Regions from separate parts of the Homo sapiens genome. Here region 1 is linked to region 2. Evidence: promoter capture Hi-C in 16 types of primary human blood cells and fetal thymus (Javierre and others, 2016). All regions are on one chromosome and are shown on one strand. The core of a region is centred on a gene start or on the middle of the fragment in contact, and the rest is flanking DNA. Distances in the headings are between cores, read along the strand shown. Region 1 overlaps AHCYL2 (adenosylhomocysteinase like 2). Region 2 holds the start of NRF1 (nuclear respiratory factor 1).

What was found. The method cuts DNA at HindIII sites, captures the fragments that hold promoters and counts their contacts. A CHiCAGO score of 5 or more calls a contact.
Region 1: a contact is called between a fragment that was not itself captured here and the fragment with the promoter of NRF1 in region 2, in 3 of 17 cell types (endothelial precursors, megakaryocytes and erythroblasts). The highest score is 6.5, in endothelial precursors.

What each region holds. Positions count from the first base shown.
Region 1 is chr7:129,367,805-129,373,527 of GRCh38, forward strand. The region is part of intron 1 of AHCYL2 (adenosylhomocysteinase like 2); the gene reads left to right. LOC107986847 (a long non-coding RNA gene) reads right to left here. Exons shown (of 3, transcript XR_007060518.1): 2 at 3,589-5,287; 3 at 220-1,090. Among named protein-coding and RNA genes, the nearest start is that of STRIP2, 64 kb to the right of the region's middle. The HindIII fragment of the contact is 283 bases long and covers 2,098-2,380 here.
Region 2 is chr7:129,609,187-129,615,086 of GRCh38, forward strand. It overlaps NRF1 (nuclear respiratory factor 1), which reads left to right and starts at 2,534. Exons shown (of 11, transcript NM_005011.5): 1 at 2,534-2,638. RefSeq lists enhancers at 1,952-2,001, 3,682-3,821 and a silencer at 2,392-3,381. The HindIII fragment of the contact is 1,773 bases long and covers 1,434-3,206 here.

The DNA of each region.
Region 1 (5,723 bases), core at 989-3,488, 240 kb before region 2:
GAAATTCTGATTTTGAAAAAGATCTTCCTAGGCTCCATCCGAACCTCCCATGCAATAAGACTCTAACTTGAGATATGCGAGAGTTTGGTGCCAGACCCCTGGTGTGAGCAGATGGGGAGCTTCTGCATAGCTGTTTAAACTTGAAAGCCCTAGGAGCTCTTGATTTCAAGGAAACGCCTGTTTACTGATCCAAATCAAGCAACTCTTGAGAAATGGGAGTGCCTTCCTGACCTCAGTCTTTATTGATCTTGGTATCCGCACCTCCAGTGACGTGTCCTGAAGGGTGGGAGAGAATTCACAAGTGCCTCACACACAGGGAAAGAAGGAAGTCCAACTATTGCTGCAGAAAGTCCCCACTGGGGAGGTGCGGGTAGAGTGTTTGGGTAGCATTAAAACAGTGAGTGCCCTGTGAGAAGCACAGTGCCTGGGTGCAGCACTTTGCATCAGCTCTGATTTTGAAATCAGACACAGAAGGCTTTGAAGCCGGCCAGTAAGGGGTTGTCAGGCAGTTGACTAATGCTCTTGATTTGAATCGGAGGCTGCTGTGAAAAGGGATGCAGCTTCTGCTAGCCACTGTGAACTTCTGAATCTCACTAGGGTTGGGTCTGCTTTGGGGCACTCAGATAACCCCAGTATTTCCAAACCAGCTTTCCCTTTTGCTTCAGGACATATCTTACCCAAGCCTGCACTATGGAGAAGTGGGACGGTAATGAGGGCACCTCAGCTTTTCACATGCCTGAGTGGATGGTGAGTTCACTGGTCGTTTTGTTTCTCCTTCTGTTTCTTGATAATGAGAGGCAACCATTTCTGACGGGTGACAAGGATCACCTCTGAGAAGCTCCTACCAAGATCCGTGGTTGGAAAAACAGTTATTACTCTACGTTCTGATTAGTTCCTAGGTACTAGGTCACCACTGTTTCTTAATTATCCACGAAGCTGGGAAAGGTGTGAGAGTTGCCTGGCCAGGGCTTGTTGCCTGGTCATCTCTGGTGGGCAGGGGCTTTCCTCCGGCTGCTGGTGTGATGTATGGGTTGTGTTTCCTGTGACTGTTTTGCACTTCTGTTTTCAACCTGATGCTTCATTTGTTTCTCTGGGGGTAAAGAAAAAGAACAATGAGGAGAAAAAACAAAAACAGAACTTACAGAAATGGTGCTCTCTGAAGTCTGCAAAGATTGCAAACATTTCTCCCCTCCCTGCCCGTATTTTTCCCTTCAGTCACAACATTTCCCTATTTCCCCCCCAGCTATCCTTTATATATATATTTCTCTATGGCAGGAACTGCAGCTCTCTTGGTACAGTTCTTCAGAATACCATGTTTGCCTGATCAGTAGTTTTACTAAAATGATAATAAGGACTTATTTGTTGATAAGAACTAGCATATAAACCTATTATATTGGATCGAATTTCAACTTTTAAAGACAATAACCATCCTTATGTTTCTAAATAGTTTCTTCTAGATTTAGCCTGATTTCTTACAGCCCACACAGGTTTATGTTTACAGATTTGTGTTTCCCCACTATGGAAAACTAGTTAGACTCTCTAAAACATATTTCAAGTTCTTTTTAGTGTTTATAGAATTATGGATTTGAAGAAATAACTATTGATAATGAGATAGAATATATAGTAGGCCTAACAAAGGCCCCCTGAGGAACTTACATTTCAACTCATTGTTACAACTATTTTTTATTGTTTTGGGGGAGGTTATTGCTGTTCTTCTTAATGTCGTTTCAGAACATTGTGTTCAGGTTTTTTTTTTTTTTTTTTTTGAAATGGAGTCTGGCTCTGTTGTCCAGGCTGGAGTGCAGTGGCGTGATCTCAGCTCACTGCAACCTCCGCTTCCTGGGTTCAAGTGATTCTCCTGTCTCAGCCTCCCAAGTAGCTGGGATTACAGGTGTGCACCACCATACCGGGTAATTTTTGTATTTTTGGTGGAGATGGGGTTTCACCATGTTGGCCAGGCTGGTCTTGAACTCCTGACCGTAGGTGATCCACCCAACTCGGCCTCCCACAGTGCTGGGATTACAGGTGTGAGCCACCACGCTCAGTCTTGTGTTCAATTTTAAAACATTTTGTGGAAAGAAAACCTATCCATCTACAAGCTTATTCCAAGTAACATAGTGTTTTAGAATTAATGGAAGGATTTATGTAATACTTCTGATTGGGTTGAGTTTTTTTGAATTTCTTGCTACTCACTAATAACAAGAAGAGGGAAAAAGAAATTTGGTTTTCTTAAGGGAAGGGCCACGTTAAGGTATCAAACTTTGGTATTTCTATAAAGGAATATTACAGAAGAATTCTACTGAACATTAGTGTGCCAACTCAGAATCAATCAAAGTTTTATAATAATTCTTATTTCTGTCATAGTCCTCACCGTCTTACAAGCTTAGCACATCCCCTCAAAGTTCAGTAGTGGCTCCTGCTGAACTTTCACCCATTTACCTTCTTTCTAGTTAATGTGAATGGGAAGACTGCCCTAAAGGAGTTGGTGTGACCACTGCATAAGGGATATGATCTAGGGCTTCCCAGCTTTTAGAAAACACTCTTTATTTAATAAAACACAGCTCTTTAGTGTTGTGTCTTGGTTGGTAAAAAATAAATAAAAAAATTTGCAGCCGGGTGCGGTGGCTCACGCCTGTAATCCCAGCACTTTGGGGGAGGCCAGGGCGGGCAGATCACGAGGTCAGGAGATCAAGATCATCCTGGCTAACACAGTGAAACCCGGTCTCTACTAAAAATACAAAAAATTAGCCGGGCGTGGTGGCGGGCGCCTATAGTCCCAGCTACTCTGGAGGCTGAGGCAGGAGAATAGCATGAACCCGGGAGGCAGAGCTTACAGTGAGCTGAGATCGCGCCACTGCACTCCAGCCTGGGCGACAGGGTGAGACTCCGTCTCAAAACAAACAAACAAAATAATAATTTAGAAAAGCACAGCTCTGCTCTGTTCTGTTTTTAATAAGGTATTACTCTCACTTAGGAATTTCTCAGCCATTCTCTCTTAAATAGCAGGAAAATACCTTTGCTCAGTATTTTGAACAGCAATAAAAAGGAATAGGGAGGAGCTAGTCTTCAATAACACGATTGTCTCATTTGCTAGCTTTTCTTTGCCAAAGACTTTTGAGGCTTTCTTTCAGATACCACGTAAGTCATTGACTCCTGACTTGGTCTGAAAGTACTTCATTAGGTTGCTACTGATAGCCACTTAGCCAAGAAAGCTAACCTCTGAGCACCCTCTAGTGTATTGCCGATGGATTTCCAGACCTTACTTGTAAAATGTTAAAGTGTCTTTTAATCCCCAAGAAAAAAACCGTTGCTCCAGCTCCCATGTTGGGCCAAAGTTTCAATTTAAAGTTTTAACGAGTGTCTTACTCATGTTCCCATTTACATATTAGTGTAATGAAATTTCCACTGAAACTATCCCTGCCACCAAAGGAAATATGAGAAGTCTCTCAAATCTTCTTTCAGGAGAAAAATTTAGCAGAGAAGGTATATTACAACATCTCCCTTTTGTTAAAAATCACCAGCAAAAAGGGACTTCATATCCCTCAGAGAATAGGACTCACACCACATATAACAGCTGACAGTACTCACATCTCTGATTTCCAGCAGGGAAATAAGCCGGGATGAAGCCTGAAGAACCCCAATCTCAAGAACTGACGAGGTAGACTTTCAAGGTTACGTTCCATCAATCACTGGAAAACTTCTCCTGGAGCCTCTGCTCCTCAGCTGTTTTCATGTGAAGGATTTTCTTAGCCCTGTTCAGACAGCTTTACTGCTGAAAGGTTGGGGAACACTTCCTTTTAAAGACTGTCTTTATTAATGTGTTTTACTTCCCCTGAGAGATCTTTAGTCCCTTCTGGTAGTAACCTCGACTGACATGCATGGAGATCAGCAATAACTTTTTCTGTGTTTCAACATTTTAATATTTCCTCCTCCTCCCACTCCAGCTCTCTGTACTTTTCCATAGGAAATCTGGTTGATTGACTTTCATGAGTATCCAGCCAGCTTGATGCCCGATATTCTTTTGGCAAGAAGTAATCCTTTTCATAGGTAAAGAGTTAGTTCAAGCCGCTCATTTGGCTTGGAAGAGAGAGGTGTTTTGAGGAATATCTGAACCATATCTACTTGGAAGTAGAGACAAAAATCTCCAAAGTGTCTGATAAATGGTGGTAGAGGTAGCTTGACTATCACTCTAGGTCAGGATTGGTGCTTAAAACAGAAAGCCATTTGAAAAACTGATGAAAACTATGGGCTCTCTCCCCAGGATATTAAAAACACAAAATTTTGCATACTGTTGTAGGGGGTTCTAGACATCCATGGAATATAGGTTAAGAACACTTAATTTGAAAGAATAGAAATATTAATATTTTAGACTTGCATATCAATATGTAGTTTTCAAAACCCTCTCACATCTTATTATCTCAGCATACATTTTAAATAGGCAAAGTAGATATGATTATCCCTATTTTAGAAATGATGACAGACCTTAGGAAGTAGAGACACAGATACATCCTTTGTAGTATTACTTTATGTACTTGAAAAGGAATTAATTGGTTTCTCTTGGCCTTGATCCTCTTTAGGATAAATAGATCTTCTGTCCTCCCCATGAGTCCTGTTTTTCTTAATATATTACCTGTCTCTTCTTAAGAGCCTTAAGTTACGGAAAGCAGAATTAGACCCAGTTTTCTTTAGACCCTGTTTTGGGTGTAAAGAAAGATCACCTCAGCTGGGCGTGGTGCCTCATGCCTGTAATCCCAGCACTTTGGGAGGCCAAGGTGGATGGATCACCTGAGGTCAGGAGTTCGAGACCAGCCTGCCCAACATGGCGAAACCCCATCTCTACTAAAAAGTACAAAAAAAAATAAGCCAGGCATGGTTGGTGTGCTCCTGTAATCGCAGCTACTCAGGAGGCTGAGGCAAGAGAATCACTTGAACTCTGAGAGGTGGAGGTTGCAGTGAGCCGAGATGGCACCATTGCACCCCAGCCTGGGAGACAAGAGCAAAACACCATCCCCCCAAAAAAAAGAAAGAAAAGAAAGGATCACCTCATTGTATTCTCTGACCTTTCAAATAACCTTTACTTTTCTGCCTGTGAACGTGCCTCCATGGTTATAGCCATGATAGGATAGAATGGTTGGTTAAGTAGAGTCAAGAGAATCAGGGCTGCTTTACTCACGCTTGGAGAAAGTGTTAGAGCAGTGGTTTCCAAAGTGTGGTCTTCAGACTGGTAGCATCAGCGTCTCCCGGGGAGTTACTCAAAACACAAAATCTTCAACCAGAGAATTGGAAGCTGAAAAAAATTTTTTTTTTTAAATTACAAAATACAAAATCTTGGGCCCTCTCCAGACCTAATAATTCAAAAACTCTGGTGGTTAAGATCCAGCAATGTGCTTTAATAAGCTCTCCAGGTGATTTTGATGCAGCTAAAATTTGAAAGTTACTGTGTTCTATAAAAACTTATTGGCTGTGTGCGGCGGCTCACGCCTGTAATCCCAGCACTTTGGGAGGCCGAGGTGGGCGGATCACGAGGTCAGGAGATCGAGACCAGCCTGGCTAACACGAAGTAAGTGATGGAACTTTTTAAGTTTTTTTTTAGTAGAAACCCTGTCTCTACTAAAAAAAACAAAACAAAACAAAAAAGCAAAAAAACTAGCCAGGCGTGGTGGCATGCGCCTGTAGTCCCAGCTACTCGGGAGACTGAGGCAGGAGAATCACTTGACCCCGGG
Region 2 (5,900 bases), core at 1,284-3,783:
TCCTTGTTTCTTCATCTGTAAAATGGGATAATATTAGTAACTACCCAGGCCGGGCACAGTTGCACACCTGTAATCCCTGCACTTTAGGAGGCTAAGGTAGAACGGCTTGAGCCCAGGAGTTGGAGACCAGCCTGGGCAACAGGCATCTGCCTGTGGTCCCAGCTACTCAGGAGGCTGAGATGGGAGGATTGCTTGAGCCCAGGATGAGACTGCAGTGAGCTGTGTTTGCGCCACTGTATTCCAGTCTGGGAGATACAGTGAGACCCTGTCTCAAAAGTTAAAAAAAAGGTAGTACCTACCTTGTGGGCTCTACTTGATAATTAAATGAGAAAGAAGATAATGTGCATAAAGGCTTCCACTAGGGCCTGACGCATCGTGAGCGCTCAATAAACGTGGGGAGTACTGGGTGTGATGACAAAGGGTCTAATGCACCCAATCTTGGGAGATGAAAAAATGCTGCCTGGAGGCGATGGTATTAATGTTGGGATCTGAAAGAATGGTAAGAATTATTCAGGTGAGGATTCAAGTAAGTGCATAGATGGTGTAGAGAGAAATGAAGTTATGGGCAAAGGGAACAGCCCTTGCAACAGTTGTGAGGTGGCACAATTTCCAGGCTTAAATGACCTGAGAGCTTCCCAGTTTTGAGTGTAGCCTGAGAAATATCTGTGGCAGATGAGGTCAGAGATGGCAACAGGGATGAGATCACCAATGGCCCTGTAGCCACCTCAAAGAATTTTAGACTTTATCCTACGTGTTAATCAGATCTTTTTAAGAGTCTTAAACAGGGAAAAAACATGATTTTCTTTCTTGAAAGACCATTCAAGCTGTAGTGGATTTGGAGAGGGCAATTTCGGTGGCAGGGAGACCAAGAGGAGTCTACCGCAGTGTCTCTAGGAGAGATGACAGTAGCCTGAACCAGAGTAAGAACTGACAGGGAACAACAGTTTTAAAAATCTAATTGGGGCTGGGTGCAGTGGCTCACGGCTGTAATCCCAGCACTTTGGGAGGTTAAGGCAGGCAGATCACTTGAGCCTAGGAGTTCGAGACCAGCCCGGGCCAACAAGATGAAACCTCATCTCTACTAAAAATACAAAAATTAGCCGGGCGTGGTGGTGGGGACCTGTAGTCCCAGCTACTGGGGAGGCTGAGGTGGGAGGATCCTTGAGCCCAGAGAGGTCGAGGCTGCAGTGAACAATGATTGCACCACTGCCCTCCAGCCTAGGTAATAGAGTGAGAATCTGTCTCACAAACAAACACATCTAATTTAACATGGGGACTCCAGAGACAGAGGAAAGAGTAATGGATCATTTCCAGGTTTCTGGCTTGAGCACTTGGGTGGCTAGTGTTGGCACTCTCCTAGAAAACACTGGAGAAAAAGACATTCAATTTTTGGATATGTTGAATTTTGAGGTTAATAGAATCTTGAAAATTAAAGCTTCCTGATTTTGTTAATCCGTTTTCTGACACCCTTTAGCAATTCTTCAATGCAATGCTTTTCACATTATTATATGCATAAGAATCACCAGGGGTGTGGAGATGGGGATGTGAAAATGCAGGTTCCTAGGCAAACAAGCCAAGATTCTGGATACCAACTGGGTCCCAGGACTCAAAACAATCAGCCTGAGTAATTCTGATGGAGGGAGTCTCCTGACGACACTAAAAAAACAACAAAAACGACCCCTCTGCCGGGCATGGTGTCCTGTAATACCAGCACTTTGGGAGGCTGAGTCGGGAGGATCGCTTGGGCCCAGGAGTTCGAGACCAGCCTAGGCAACATAGGGTGACCACCCACCCCCGTTTCTAAAAGTAAAAAAAGACCCCTCGTGTGTCTCCACCGTTAGGTTGTTTTCCCACTGTCCACCCCTCCCTACTTCTCAGGCACCTGCTTGGGGGCCCCTATTGCTTCGAATAAGCTCCGTGGGAGCCAGGACTTTGTCTTGCTAACAGGTGCATCTTCAGCGCACTCAGAACAATATCTGGCACAGCACGAGACACCTAGAAATGTTCGCCGAACGATCGAATGGCTGAATACATTCATATGTTGCTTTGTACAAAAACTTGCTTTCAAATATCTGGGAAGAGTTAGAGATAGGAAAGCAGAGGTCATTTCAAAGAGAGAGAGTGAGGATACCACCGGGAAGGCAGCGCCGAAAAAACCAGAGGGGAACCACTTGCCGATCCCCCAGGCACAGTCTGGAGGTCCCAATTCCCGCGGTAGGGGGGCGAGAGATGCCACTCGTCTGATCAGCAACCATTTTGGGCCCGCTTGCGCCGCTTCTCCGGGGCGTCCGCGTTGTGCTCATCCAGTTGCTTTTGAGGTTCCGGCCCCCTCCAAACCTCTGAAGCGCTCCGTGCACGCGACGCGGCGGCGGGGTAAGCTGGAGCCCTCGCCGCGAGCCCTCTCCGCTGCCTGCCCGCAGCACAGCCGCGCCGACCTCCTCATCATGGCGGCGGCCGGGCGGGGAAGCCGGGCCGTGCGTCGCGTGCGTGCCCTCTCCCTCCCCTCCCCCTCCTCGGCGGCGGCGGCGGCGGCAGAAGCGGCAGCGCTCGCCATTGCCGCTGGTGGCAGGAGGCTGCGAGGAGCCGGCGCGGTCGCAGTCTCCACGGCGCAGGCCCACGGTAGCGCAGCCGCTCTGAGGTGAGTGCCCTACCGCGCAATCTCCAGCTATTTCAGCCCCGGCGCAGCCGCAACACGCCGCCCGCCCGCCGGCCGGCCGGCCCGCCCCGCAGCCGGCACCCTGCCGCCCCCGGCTCTGGGCCTGGGCCCCCGCCGGATTCGGCCCGCCTCGGGCGGGGGGCCCCGGCCCGGCCCAGCCAAACCGCCACCCCGAGGATGCGCAGGCCGCACTAGGCCCCAGGCGTCCTGGCGGGCTCGGGAGGGAGGCGCTGCCCTCCCGAGAGCCCCAGGGTTCCGGCCTCCTCCGCCGCCTGGGGCTCTCGGGGCCGCGGCCTTCTCCCCGCCGTGGAACCCGGGGCCCGGCCTTCCCGCAGCTCGGGAGCGGGAGGCGCGGGAGAGTGCGCCGGGCCCGGGAGCGGGAGGTGGGCGGGCTGCGCGGGACCGGAGCCGCGGCTCTCGGCTCGCCCCCTCGGCCCTTCCCGGCTCTCGTACGCGGGCGGGCGGGCGGGCGGCGCGGTGGGGCCGGGCTGGGGCGCGGGAGCCGCTGTCTCCTGCGGGAGAGGAGGCTGGCTCTTTGGGCGACCTCCGAAGCTTCCCTCCTGCCGGGGTGGCGTGGGCTTGTTACCCAGGTAGACTGGGGGACGCTGGAATATGGCGCGTTGCCCACCTTCTTGCAAGTTAGGAGGTGGCCGGGGCGGCAGTTCGAGGAGGAGGGCGCAAAGTCCTTTTGTACGCAGAAATAAGGAGCGACATTGTGTTTTCTTCCCCAGCTGAGATGTGCCCGCGGAGGGGCCGCGGTTCTTCCTGTGCCTGGGGTGGTGGTCCCCTGGGTGAGGGAGAGGGGGAGTGGCACGCCCCTCCGAAGGAACAGAACCTTTTGCCACTGGAAAGACAGGGGCTCTGAGATGGCCGTGTGCATGGTATTTTCCCATATCCCCAGACCTTTTCGGGTTTGTCATTGAATGTTGTGCACTCCATCGTGCAATGATGTCTGCTGCCTCTCTCACCTGTTGTGTCGTGGCTGCTGGTCCCAAAGTTTCTGCAGTGTATTTGGCTGTGCCCACCAGAACTTGAAGTTGTTTAAAAATCTTAATACTTGGGGGGCTTCCAGTGATATCTGCTCCAACCAGTTGGAGGAGCTGTTGCCTGCTCTCCATTCTTCTTAAGCATTAGATTAGAATATATTAATTGCTTATTTTAGAGCTGGTGTCAATCGTGCTGATTTCTTTATGTGGTCAGAGCAAAATTCACATTTTTTTAAGTGTTCAGAGACTGCGTATTGAGAGACGCATAAGGAGAAAGGTAGTGTGAGTGAGCCTGTCAGCTTGGGCAGTGTTGGGCAGAGCTTTTGTCCCGGGACATCATCTGTGCTCACAGTGATCCTTTTTCCCATTCCATCTCAGCCTAGCCTTTTAAAAAATTATTTTTCCTTTGGGCTTGACCAGTAAGTAATTGGGAAAGGGGGGTGCTGGAGTCTTGGAGATGCTGTTTGTGTGTGTGTGTGTGTTTGATTCATTAGTATCCCGACTCCCTAAAATTGTATTTGACAGTTCTTGACAGGTTACCCCGTAAGACAGTGAAAATATGACTAGTTCTCTCCGTGCATCTGAGTGTAATTTCCTTATTTTATGAGTCCGAAAGCAGACATAATTATCACATGCAATGTAGAATATTTATTCTTAACTTGGATCCTAAATTGTGGGCAGAATTTTTTTGTGTCAAGGGGTTTTTTTTTCTTTTGATAGGACTTAGTGGCTTTCAACAGGGCCCATGACCAAAAAAAACAATAATCAGATTAAGAAAACTCTTTACGGCCGGGTGCGGTGGCTCACACCTGTAATCCCAGCACTTTGGGAGGCCGAGGCGGGGTGGATCACCTGAGGTCAGGAGTTCGAGACCAGCCTGGCCAACATGGTGAAAGCCCATCTCTGTTAAAAATACAAAAATTAGCTGGGCGTGGTGGCAGGCGCCAGTAATCCCAGCTGCTGGGAGGGGCGGGGGCGGGGGCTGCCGAGGCAAGAGAATCGCTTGAACCTGGGAGGCAGAAGTTGCAGTGAGCCGAGATGGAGATCGCGCCATTGCACTCCAGCCCGGGGGACAAGAGCGAGACTTCATCTAAAAAAACAAAAACAAAAACTCTACTTAATCTTTTGGCCCATCCTTATTTGAAGTCCTTTAATTTCCTCACACAGCCTCAAACTCGACATATAGGAGGGAAAATGACTTTTTGCTTAGTAGTCAGTGGTCATAGTCTCCTGTAACAAAGAAAAGTTCTTATCCCCAAGTCGGCAATTTTTGTGGAAATAGTTCTCTTTTTCTTTTTCTTTTCTTAGACGGAGTCTCACTCTGTCACCCAGGCTGGAGTGCAGTGGTGCGATCTCGGCTCACTGCAACATCTGCCTCCTGGGTTCAAGCGATTCTTCGGCCTCAGCCTCCCGAGTAGCTGGGATTACAGGCGTGGGCCACCATGCCCGGCTAATTTTTGTATTTTTAGTAGAGACGGGGTTTTGGCGTGTTGGCCAGGCTGGTCTCGAACTTCTGACCTAAGGTGATCTGCTGGGCTTGGCCTCCGAAAGTGCTGGGATTACAGGCATGAGCCAATGCGCCTGGCCCAATAATTTTCTTATAAAAATATGTATTTGTGTGTGTGTGTGTGTGTGTGTACATACATATATATAATTTTTTTTTTTAAGTTAGAGATGGGGATCTTGCTATGTTGCCTAAGCTGGCCTTGAACTCCTGGGCTCAAGGAATGCACCCACCTCAGCCTCCCCAGTAGCTGAGACTATAGGCAAGTGCCACCGTGCTGGCAGTGGCTTCATAACATGTTTCAAGGAAATTTAGCTCCTGTGTTAAGAGAAGGAGCTATAGAAGTAGAAGATAATGAGGGCCCTTGTCCAGATATAGAAGGTTTAAAGGAGAAAGGATTTCAGGTTTCCTTCTGAATTCCTGTGTATGTCGTTAGGACCCCAAATTGTAGGTTTTTTGTTTTATTAAACGATAATTATGCACTTGTCTAATTTTGTTAGGGAACCGAAGGCCAACTTCCCATGATTTAAATACCTGAATTTGCATTGCCTGCACACTGTAGGTTCAACCAAATCTCTGGGTTGTCTTTAGAAGCATTTTATGTAAATAATCACGAATGAGTGACTTGTTTTAAGGGAAATTTAAGCTCCTGTGGTCTGGGATTAAATTTTTATGCCTTTTCTTGTATGGAATAAGGCATTCAGTAAAGTTGAAGAATAATAACAATGAACAGTAATTACTGAAATTAAAATTT